2 separate regions of the Homo sapiens genome follow, and region 1 is linked to region 2. The links are contacts of gene promoters, found by promoter capture Hi-C in human tissues and cell types (Jung and others, 2019). All regions are on one chromosome and are shown on one strand. The core of a region is centred on a gene start or on the middle of the fragment in contact, and the rest is flanking DNA. Distances in the headings are between cores, read along the strand shown. Region 1 overlaps PC (pyruvate carboxylase). Region 2 holds the start of C11orf86 (chromosome 11 open reading frame 86).

Region 1 (4,653 bases), core at 1,894-4,393, 36 kb before region 2:
AATATGGTATGAAGGGTGAAGCAACAGCCCTGAGGCAGGGAGAACTAGGCAACATACAGAAGAGAACAGCTGGCCAAGGAAATAACCAAGCCAGACAGATGACATTCATTTAACCTATGTTTTTCACTCCCTAACTATGTTCCAAACTTGGTGGAACACATAAGCATCCCTGGGTATTTGTAGAAAAACTTGGGGAAGGGAACTCTATAAAAGATAGGTCTTCTTTTTTTTTTAAGATGGAGTCTTGCTCTGTCACCCAGGCTCCCAGGCTGGAATGCAGTGGCGCGATCTTGGCTCACTGCAACCTCCGCCTCCCAAGTTCAAGCAACGATTCTCGTGCCTCAGCCCCCTAAGTAGCTGGGACTACAGGTATGCACCACCACGCCTGGCTAATTTTTGTATTTTTGGTAGAGATGGGGGTTTCGCCATGTTGGTCAGGCTGGTCTCGAACTTCTGACCTCAAATGATCCACCCGTCTGGGCCTCCCAAAGTGCTGGGATTACAGGTGTAAGCCACTGTGCCCGGCCTAAAGACAGGCCTTCCTACAGGTCAAGGAAGCTTGACTAATTGTTATTAGGGATTAAATTGAAAAACTGTCCCTGAAGACAAAGAGGTCAGGACCATCTAAGACTCAAAAGTCCAATAATTACAGTTGAAGGTTTTGCCTTCAACAGTGTTCATCCCACTATCTCCTGGCTCCCATGATTTCTGAGGAGAAATGAGCTGTTAATCTGATCAAAGATCCTTTGAACAAGATAAGTTGCTCATCTCTTGCTGCTTTCAAGATTCTTTGTCATTTGACACTTTGATTATGAAATATCTAGGTGTGGATCTCTGATATTCATCCTCATTGGAGTTCACTGAGCTTCCTGAGTGGGTAGGTTACTGTTTTTCATCAGCTTGTGGCCATTCTTTCTGACCCTTTCTCTCCTCTCCTTCTGGGACTCTCATGATGCATATGTTGATTTGTGTGACGGTGCACCATGGGTCTCTGAGGCTGTTAATTTTCCTTCATTCTTTTTTCATTAGCCTGAAAAATCTCAAGGTACCATCTTCAAGCTTGCTGATTTTTTTCTGCCTGCTCAAATCTGCTGTTCAGCCTCTAGTGAATTTTTCATGTCAGTAACTACACAGTTCAACTCCAGAATTTCTGGGTTTTTTTTGTTTTTTTTTTTTTTGAGACTGAGTCTTGCTCTGTTGCCTAGGCTGGAGTACAGTGATGCCATCTCAGCTCACTGCAATCTCCACCTCCCAGGTTCAAGCGATTCTCCTGCCTCAGCCTCCTGAGTAGCTGGGACTACAGGTGCGTGCCACCACACTCAGCTAATTTTTTGTATTTTTAGTAGAGACGGGGTTTCACTGTGTTAGCCAGGATGGTCTCGATCTCTCGACCTCGTGATCCACCTGCCTTGGCCTCCCTCTATTTGGTGAGACACTCTTCTCACATTTTCCTTAAGTTCTTTAGACAAATTTAAAATAGTTGATTTAACATCATTGTCTATGAAGTCCAACATCTAGGCTGGAAAAGACTGTGTCTTTCCTGTGTATGAACCATACTTTCTTGTTTCTTTGCATGCCTCATAACTTTTTGTTGAAAACAAGAATAACTTTTTTCTGCGATTTTTCCTGAATAAATGTGTCTTAGATTGTTGCAAGCCTTTGGTTAATTTCTCGAGTTCTGAAAAAGTTGGTTTTAATCATTTTTGCCAGTTTTCTCATTCCTTTAAATGGAGGAACAGCATTTATGAAGTCCTCACTCCACCACTCCCCAGCAATCTATATCTCATATGGCATTTAGAAAGAGGTTTTCATCCCCCAAAACAATTTTTTGGAAAAGAGGGGTAAAAGAGTCAAACTCTGATATTTAAGTACCTAGTACTCGACCGTAAGCCCCAAGTAGTGTTATGAATTGCACCCTTCTCTAATTAGATTTTTTAAATTGATAACTTAAAATTAAAACATCCTATAAAGAAAAAAATACTATATAGAAAATTTTTTAAACACATAATTTTGTAACTCCAGCAACCTGAACAAATTGTTGGTATAGCATTCCAAAATAACAAAAAATGAGATATTATACATTCTGTTTTATAATATATATTTTTTGTGTAAAGGCATCATAGCTCTCGTCCTATGGTAATAAATTTAGAGTGACAGCTTGATTAGGATACATGAGCTATTTTTAAAGGCTACATCATATGACACAGAACAGACTTCATATGTAGCAATCATTTTCTGATGTACGTTTTGGTGATTTCCCATTTTCTGCTATCACCTCATATGTTTGCACGCCTGTCCCATGATACCACAGGTTACATTTCTAGAACTGGAATTGCTGTGTTAAATGACTTGACATTTTAGGTTTCATCTTCTCTGCACCCCCCAGTCATTTAATACTGGCCCTATGGTGAAGCACATTTTCCCTCCTCTTTGAGAGCAGAGTCGTCACTCAGTGACATCACTGCCTTCGTTTACTATATGGTCAGCCCTCTGTATCTGTGGGTTCCACATCCACTCATTCAACCAACTGGGGATCAAAAATATTCGAAAAAGCAAAATAAAAAATGACAATACAACAATAAAAAATAATACAAATAAAAACAATACAGTATAAGAACTATTTACATGGCATTTACATTGGATTGGGTATTTTAAGTTATCCAGAGATGATTTAAAGTACACAAGATGATATGCATAGGTTATATGCAAATACTATGCCATTTTCTATCAAGCACTTGAGCATCTTGGAGGATTCTGGCATCCATAGGGGGGTCTTGGAACCAGTCCCCAGGGGATAGCAAGAAACAACTGTGCTATGAAATACTGTATCTCACAGTGCTCCTTTACCACCTTAAAGGGGAACACAGCCACAGGTGAGGACAGACTGTACTTAAAACTCCTGCAGAGGCTGGACACAGTGGTTCACGCCTGTAATCCTAATACTTTGGGAGGCCAAGGCGGGTGGATCACCTGAGGTCAGGAGTTTGAGACCAGCCTGACCAATACGGAGAAACCCCGTCTCTACTAAAAATACAAAATTAGCCAGGTGTGGTGGCGCATGCCTGTAATCCCAGCTACTCGGAAGGCTGAGGCAGGAGAATCACTTGAACCCGGGAGGCAGAGGTTGCAGCAAGCCGAGATCGTGCCATTGCACTCCAGCCTGGGCAACAAGAGCAAAACTCCGTCTCAAAAAAAAAAAAAAAAAAAAAACCAAAAACAAGAAAAAACAAAAAAAAAACAACTCCTGCAGAGACACATGAGAAAGAATGAAATTGGACCCTTACCTGACACCATATCCATGACCTAAACATAAGACCTAAAATGACAAAACTCTTGGAAAAAACATAGGGGAAAAGCTTTATATTAGATTTAACAATGATTTCTTGGATACAACACCAAAGGCAGGCACAGGCAACAAAAAGCAAAGATAGACAAGTTGGACTTCAAGAAAATGTAAAAATTTTGTGCATCAAAAGACATTATCATGGGGTAAAAAGGCAATCCACAGTATGGAAGAAAATATTTACAAATCATGTATCTGATAAGGGATTAATATCGAGAATACATAGAAAGTTCCCAAAACTTTTTTTTTTTTTTTTTGAGACAGGGTCTCACTCTGTTGTCCAGGCTGGAATGCAGTCGTACAATCTCGACTCACTGCAGCCTCGACTTCTCATGCTCAAGTGATCCTCCCACTTCAGTCTCCCTGGTAGTTGGGACCACACCCGGCCCCTCTGCCCATTTTGAATCAGGTGGTTTTTTGTGTGTGTGTGTTGAATTTTGGGAGTTTGCCAGGTGCAGTGGCTCATGTCTGTAATCCCAGCACTTTGGGAGGCTGAAGCAGGCAGATCACTTGAGCTCAGGAGTTCAAGACCAGCCTGGGCATCATGGTGAAACGCTGTCTCCACAAAAAATACAAAAACTACAGCTACAAAATACAAAATACAAAAAAATACAGCTACAAGGGAGGCTGAGGTGGGAGGATCACTGCAGCCCAGGAGGTCGAGGCTGCAGTGAGCCAAGACTGTGCCACTGTACTCCAGCCTGGGCAACAGAACAAGACCCTGTCTCAAAATAAATAAATAAATAAATAATAAAAATTTAAAAAGGCAAAGGACTTGAACAGACATTTCCCCAAAGAAGATAGAAGATATACAAATGGCCAATAAGCACATCACAAGATGCTCAAGGCCAGGCACAGTGGCTCACGCCTGTAATCCCAGTACTTTGGGAGGCTGAGGCAGGTGGTCACTTGAGGTCAGGAGATCGAGACCAGCCTGGCTAACACGTCTCTACTAAAAATACAAAAATTAGCCAGGCATGGTGGTGCATGTTTACAATCCAAGCTACTTGGGAGGCTGAGGCAAGAGGATAGCTTGAACCCAGGAGGCAGAGGTTGCAGTGAGCTGACATGGTGCCACTGCACTCCAGCCTGGGCAACAGAGCAAGCAAGACTCCATCTAAAAAAAAAAAAAAAAAAAAAAGGTGCTCAACATCACTAATCATTAAGGAAATGCAAATCCAAACTACAATGAGATATCACCTCATACCCATTGGGATGGCTACTATCAAAACAACAAAGTGTTGGTGAGGATGTGGAAAAACTGGAACCCTCATGCACTGTTAATGGAAATGTAAAATGCTGTAGCTGAT
Region 2 (4,401 bases), core at 763-3,262:
AGCCAATTAAACTTTTTGTCTTTATAAATTACCCAGTCTCAGGTATTTCTTATTTTTATTATTATTATTTTTTGAGACAGATTCTCTCTCTGTTGCCCAGGCTGGGGTGCAGTGGCGCAATCTTAGCTCACTACAACCTCCGCCTCCTGGGTTCAAGCGATTCTCCTGCCTCAGCCTCCCGAGTAGCTGGGATTACAGTTGCCCACCACTACACCTGGATAATTTTTTGTTTTGTTTTGTTTTGTTTTGAGACGGAGTCTTGCTCTGTTGCCCAGGCTGGAGTGCAGTGGCACGATCTCGGCTCACTGCAACCTCTGCCTCCTGGGTTCAAGCAATTCTCCTGCCTCAGCCTCCCGAGTAGCTGGGATTACAGGCACACGCCACCATGCCTGCCTAATCTTTGTATTTTTTCAGTAGAGACGGGGTTTCACCATGTTGGCCAGGCTGGTCTCAAACTCCTGACCTTGTGATCCACCTGCCTCAGCCTCCCAAAGTGCTGGGATTACAGTTGTGAGCCACTGCAACCTGGCCTAATTTTTGTATTTTTAGTAGAGAAGGGGTTTCACCATATTGGCCAGGCTGGTCTTGAACTTCTGACCTCAAGTGATCTACCCGCCTCAGCCTCCCAAAGTGCTAGGATTACAGGCATGAGCCACTGCTCCCAGCCTCAGGTCTTTCTTTATAGCAGCAGGAGAACGGACAAATACAACCACCAACTCACTTTGTTCGAGGGCTTGCTGTGTGCCAAGCCCTGTGGACCACATTTAATACGCACAACAATTACCCAAGTTATTTGTCCCTCTTACGAATGAAGGAGAAAAATGTGCCCAAGGTCACAAGGCTGCAAGGAATGAAGCTACAGTTTACCCAGAGGCAGTTGGTCCTCAGAGCTTGAGTGCTCAAGGATAGTGCTGTGCTGCTGGGACATTAGGGGCAGCGCTGGGCCTGGAAAAAATCCAGGCCTCCTGACTCCTAGCCTGGAGCCGTCCTGTTTCCTTCTGTTTCTTAAAAAAAAAAAAAAAAAAAAAGAAATTCTCCAGTATTGTATAACACATATACCATAAAGTTTACCATTTCAACCATTGTTGTGCAACCAATCTCTGGAACTCTTCATCTTATGAAATCTGAAAATTTACAGCCATTAAATTCTTCATTCCTCCCTCCCCCAGTGCCTGGCAACGGCCATCCTCCTTGCTGTCTTTGTGAATGTGATTGTTCTAGCTTGGAGCCATACTGATGCTTTTTTGAAAAATATATTTCTTTTTGAGACGCAGTCTTGCTCTGTCACCCAGGTTGGGTGCAGTGGCACAATCTCGGCTCACTGCAACCTCCGCCTTCTGGGTTCAAGTGATTCTCCTGCCTCAGCCTCCTGAGTAGCTGGGATTACAGGCGCCCGCCACCATGCCCAGCTAATTTTTTGTATTTTTAGTAGAGACGGGGTTTTACCATGTTGGCAAGGCTGGTCTGGAACTCCTGATCTCAGGCAATCTGCCTGCCTCGGCCTCTCAAAGTGCTAGGATTACAGGCGTGAGCCACCGGGCCTGGCCCAATTCTTAAAAGGCTGTCTCTGTTTGGTTGTTAAGCCATGGTGCTCAGTGTCAATGGATGCCGGGGCCATAGAGATTCAGAGGAGAACAAACTCTTCAGGGATGAGGTAGTCAGGGAAGCTGCCTAGAGGAGAAGGAGGAGAAGGAGGAGGGGGGAGGGAGAGGGGAGGGGAAGGAAGGGGGAGGGGAGGGGAGAAGGAGGGGGGAGGATGGGGGAGGAGGGAGGGGGGAGAGGAGGGGAGGGGGAGGGGAGGGGGAGGGGGGAAGGATAGGTGAAGGAGGGAGTGGCAATTTCCTCCCCTTGGCCTTCACTCCTTGACCCAGAAGGTGGGGAGGCAGTGGTGAGGTGACTCAGGGATGCTTGGCCCTGTGGCCTGCCCTTTGATTTATGAAAGCCACCTTGGCAGCACCAACCTTTGCCCCCAGTGATCTCTTGTCAGATGGGTGGAGGCACTGGGCCACCTCAGAGGGCCAGTGTCTTGCTGAGGGGCCGGAGCAGTCCTGTGCCTGCAGCCTCCGGAGCCATGGGAACAGGGCTGCGAAGTCAGTCCTTGCGAGAGCCCCGACCCTCCTATGGAAAGCTGCAGGAGCCCTGGGGGAGGCCCCAGGAGGGCCAACTCCGCAGGGCGCTAAGCCTCAGACAGGGGCAAGAGAAGTCCAGGTCCCAGGGCCTCGAGAGAGGCACAGAAGGGCCAGATGCCACTGCCCAGGAGCGGGTGCCGGGGAGCCTGGGGGACACAGAGCAGCTGATCCAAGCCCAGCGAAGAGGCAGCCGGTGGTGGCTGAGGCGGTACCAACAGGTATGGCTGTGGGCTGAAGGATGGAGGGTACCACAGCAGGTGGGCAGGGATTCCAGGGCAGGAAAGGTTCAGAGACAGAGCCAGCCCAGGCTGTGTACCAAGATGACAACCGAGCTGCCTGGAGATGAGGGTGCAGAGAGAGACACCCCAGAGCCACGTTTCAGAGGGCCCTGAAGGCATTTGGGATTTATCCCACAGGCACTGGGGAGCCACTGAAGGTTTTAGAGGAGGAGGGTGATATGGTAAGCGCTGTTTTTAGCTGATTGATAGTATGCTGGATGGGGGAATAGAGCAGGAGGCAAGGAGATCAGCCAGTGCAACTTCCTGGGAAGTACACTGTGTGACCCTCTCACCCCAGAGAAAAAGGGGAGATCTGGACCCCTTTGTGGGGGGCTGCAGGCTCCCTCCTCTAAGAGACAGGGTCTCCAATGAGCAGTGCTTCTCTACCTGGGGTCTACCCCCACCTCGTGGCTATGGGTGGAACAACATCTAAGCCCACCACTCAGCCCATGGGACCTCCCCCACCTCTGTCTTCCAGCAGGTAAGAAGAAGGTGGGAGAGCTTTGTCGCCATCTTCCCCAGCGTGACTCTGAGTCAGCCGGCCTCCCCGTAGCCCACACTGGGCACCATCAGCTAAAGATGCTGGAAGCCATCGTGGCCCCCTTGCTGTGCCTGGACCAGCCCACCGTGTCTGCTGACCTACCTCTTCACAGCTCTCTGGACTTTGGCTGGGTGGCCCTAGGAGGCTTCTGCCACCAGCTCACTGGAGTCGCCACGTGGCTGCCACTCTTAGCTCTGGCCCTTCCACTCCAGCACTAGCTCTCTTTGAAGATCCCAGCAGGGTCAAAAAGAAGGGGGCTCAGCTGTCTGCCCTCTGGGCTTGGGTAGGGGCCTTGGACTATGATTCTATGAAGGTTTAGAAGAAGCCTGCCCGGAATGGGGGCTGTGGACGCTCCTGCCCCACACGACCAGCTGTCAACTTCCAGGACGGAGCTTGATGAAGCCAGACCCATGGCCGAGAGGCTCACGGACGTTGCCTGGTCACTGGGCCATGACCCAACTGCCCTTCTTGTCAGTTGCTGATGGTGGGCCAGGGCGCAGGTCTCCCTCCCAGATGGTGAGCCCTCTGGGGCAAGGACCACAGCTGGGTGGCCCTCCTGGCTGAGCACTCTGTGCTGAAAACCTTTGAACCTCACGGTGTCCTGATGAAGGAAGCAGAGGAAGTCTTCCTCCCTGTGTGACAGAGGGGGAAACTGAGGCCCAGAGTGGGGAAGGGATTTCTTGGTTTTGACATCTCCGACCCCACCCCACCCCATCCAGTGTCCAGCACTGGAGTCGAACACAGTAATAAAGATGCTGAGAAAAAGTCAACGATTTGCCTGGTGACTAACTCGCTGGCTCAGACCCCCACCCCCCCACCCCTGCTGACCCCTGTGAGGCAGGCTAAGCCCAAAGCATCCCAGAATGCTTGGGCAGGGGCACCAGGGCCCGGGGCGGGCTGGATCCCCCACCAGGCTGGGCCTTTCCTGCCACTTCTCTGGACCTTTCTCCCCAGAGGGATTGTGCCCACCCTGTGCTGACCTCAAGGCCAGCTTCAGAGGACCTGGCTCTCAGTGTCCTGCCTCTGTGCCCACCCCACTGAGGTGGGGCTCCTTCTGAGGCTTAGAGAGGCAAGGGCCACACAGAAGGAGAGGGTCTGACCCCAAAAAGCCTGAGCTCTTCGAGAGACACTGGCACTTTTTGCAGGGCCCCTGGGGCTCTCCAGGCTCAAGCAGGCCCAAGGACAAAGGTGAGGGAGCAGCTAAGTATCCTGGTCCAGGATCTGTTCCGGGGGGTGTTGTCCAGTGGACAGAGGGGAGGCTTCCGTTTCCCCAGAGACCAGGCCCCATCAGGGCCATTCAGAAACAAGGGGGGAGCTGGGAAAATTTTCTTCCAGGAAGCCTAGGGTGCCTGGCTGGGAAGCTAGATGGTAGGAGCCCACCAGAAGCCTTGAGCCCGGCCGGTCTTATGCTTCAGATACCCTTCTCAGCTTCTTCTGCAGTAGTACCTGAGGT

What was found. Contacts are between HindIII fragments. The study calls those that stand out against the background at their distance.
Region 1: a fragment that was not itself captured here is called in contact with the fragment with the promoter of C11orf86 in region 2 in 2 of the 25 tissues and cell types used here (liver and neural progenitor cells).

What each region holds. Positions count from the first base shown.
Region 1 is chr11:66,936,617-66,941,269 of GRCh38, forward strand. The region is part of intron 3 of PC (pyruvate carboxylase); the gene reads right to left. Among named protein-coding and RNA genes, the nearest start is that of MIR3163, 4.4 kb to the left of the region's middle. The HindIII fragment of the contact is 4,670 bases long and covers 809-4,653 here.
Region 2 is chr11:66,973,292-66,977,692 of GRCh38, forward strand. It overlaps C11orf86 (chromosome 11 open reading frame 86), which reads left to right and starts at 2,013. Exons shown (of 2, transcript NM_001353554.2): 1 at 2,013-2,347; 2 at 2,886-3,718. The coding sequence starts at 2,072. The coding sequence ends at 2,960. RefSeq lists an enhancer at 2,694-3,197. The HindIII fragment of the contact is 14,679 bases long and covers 1-4,401 here.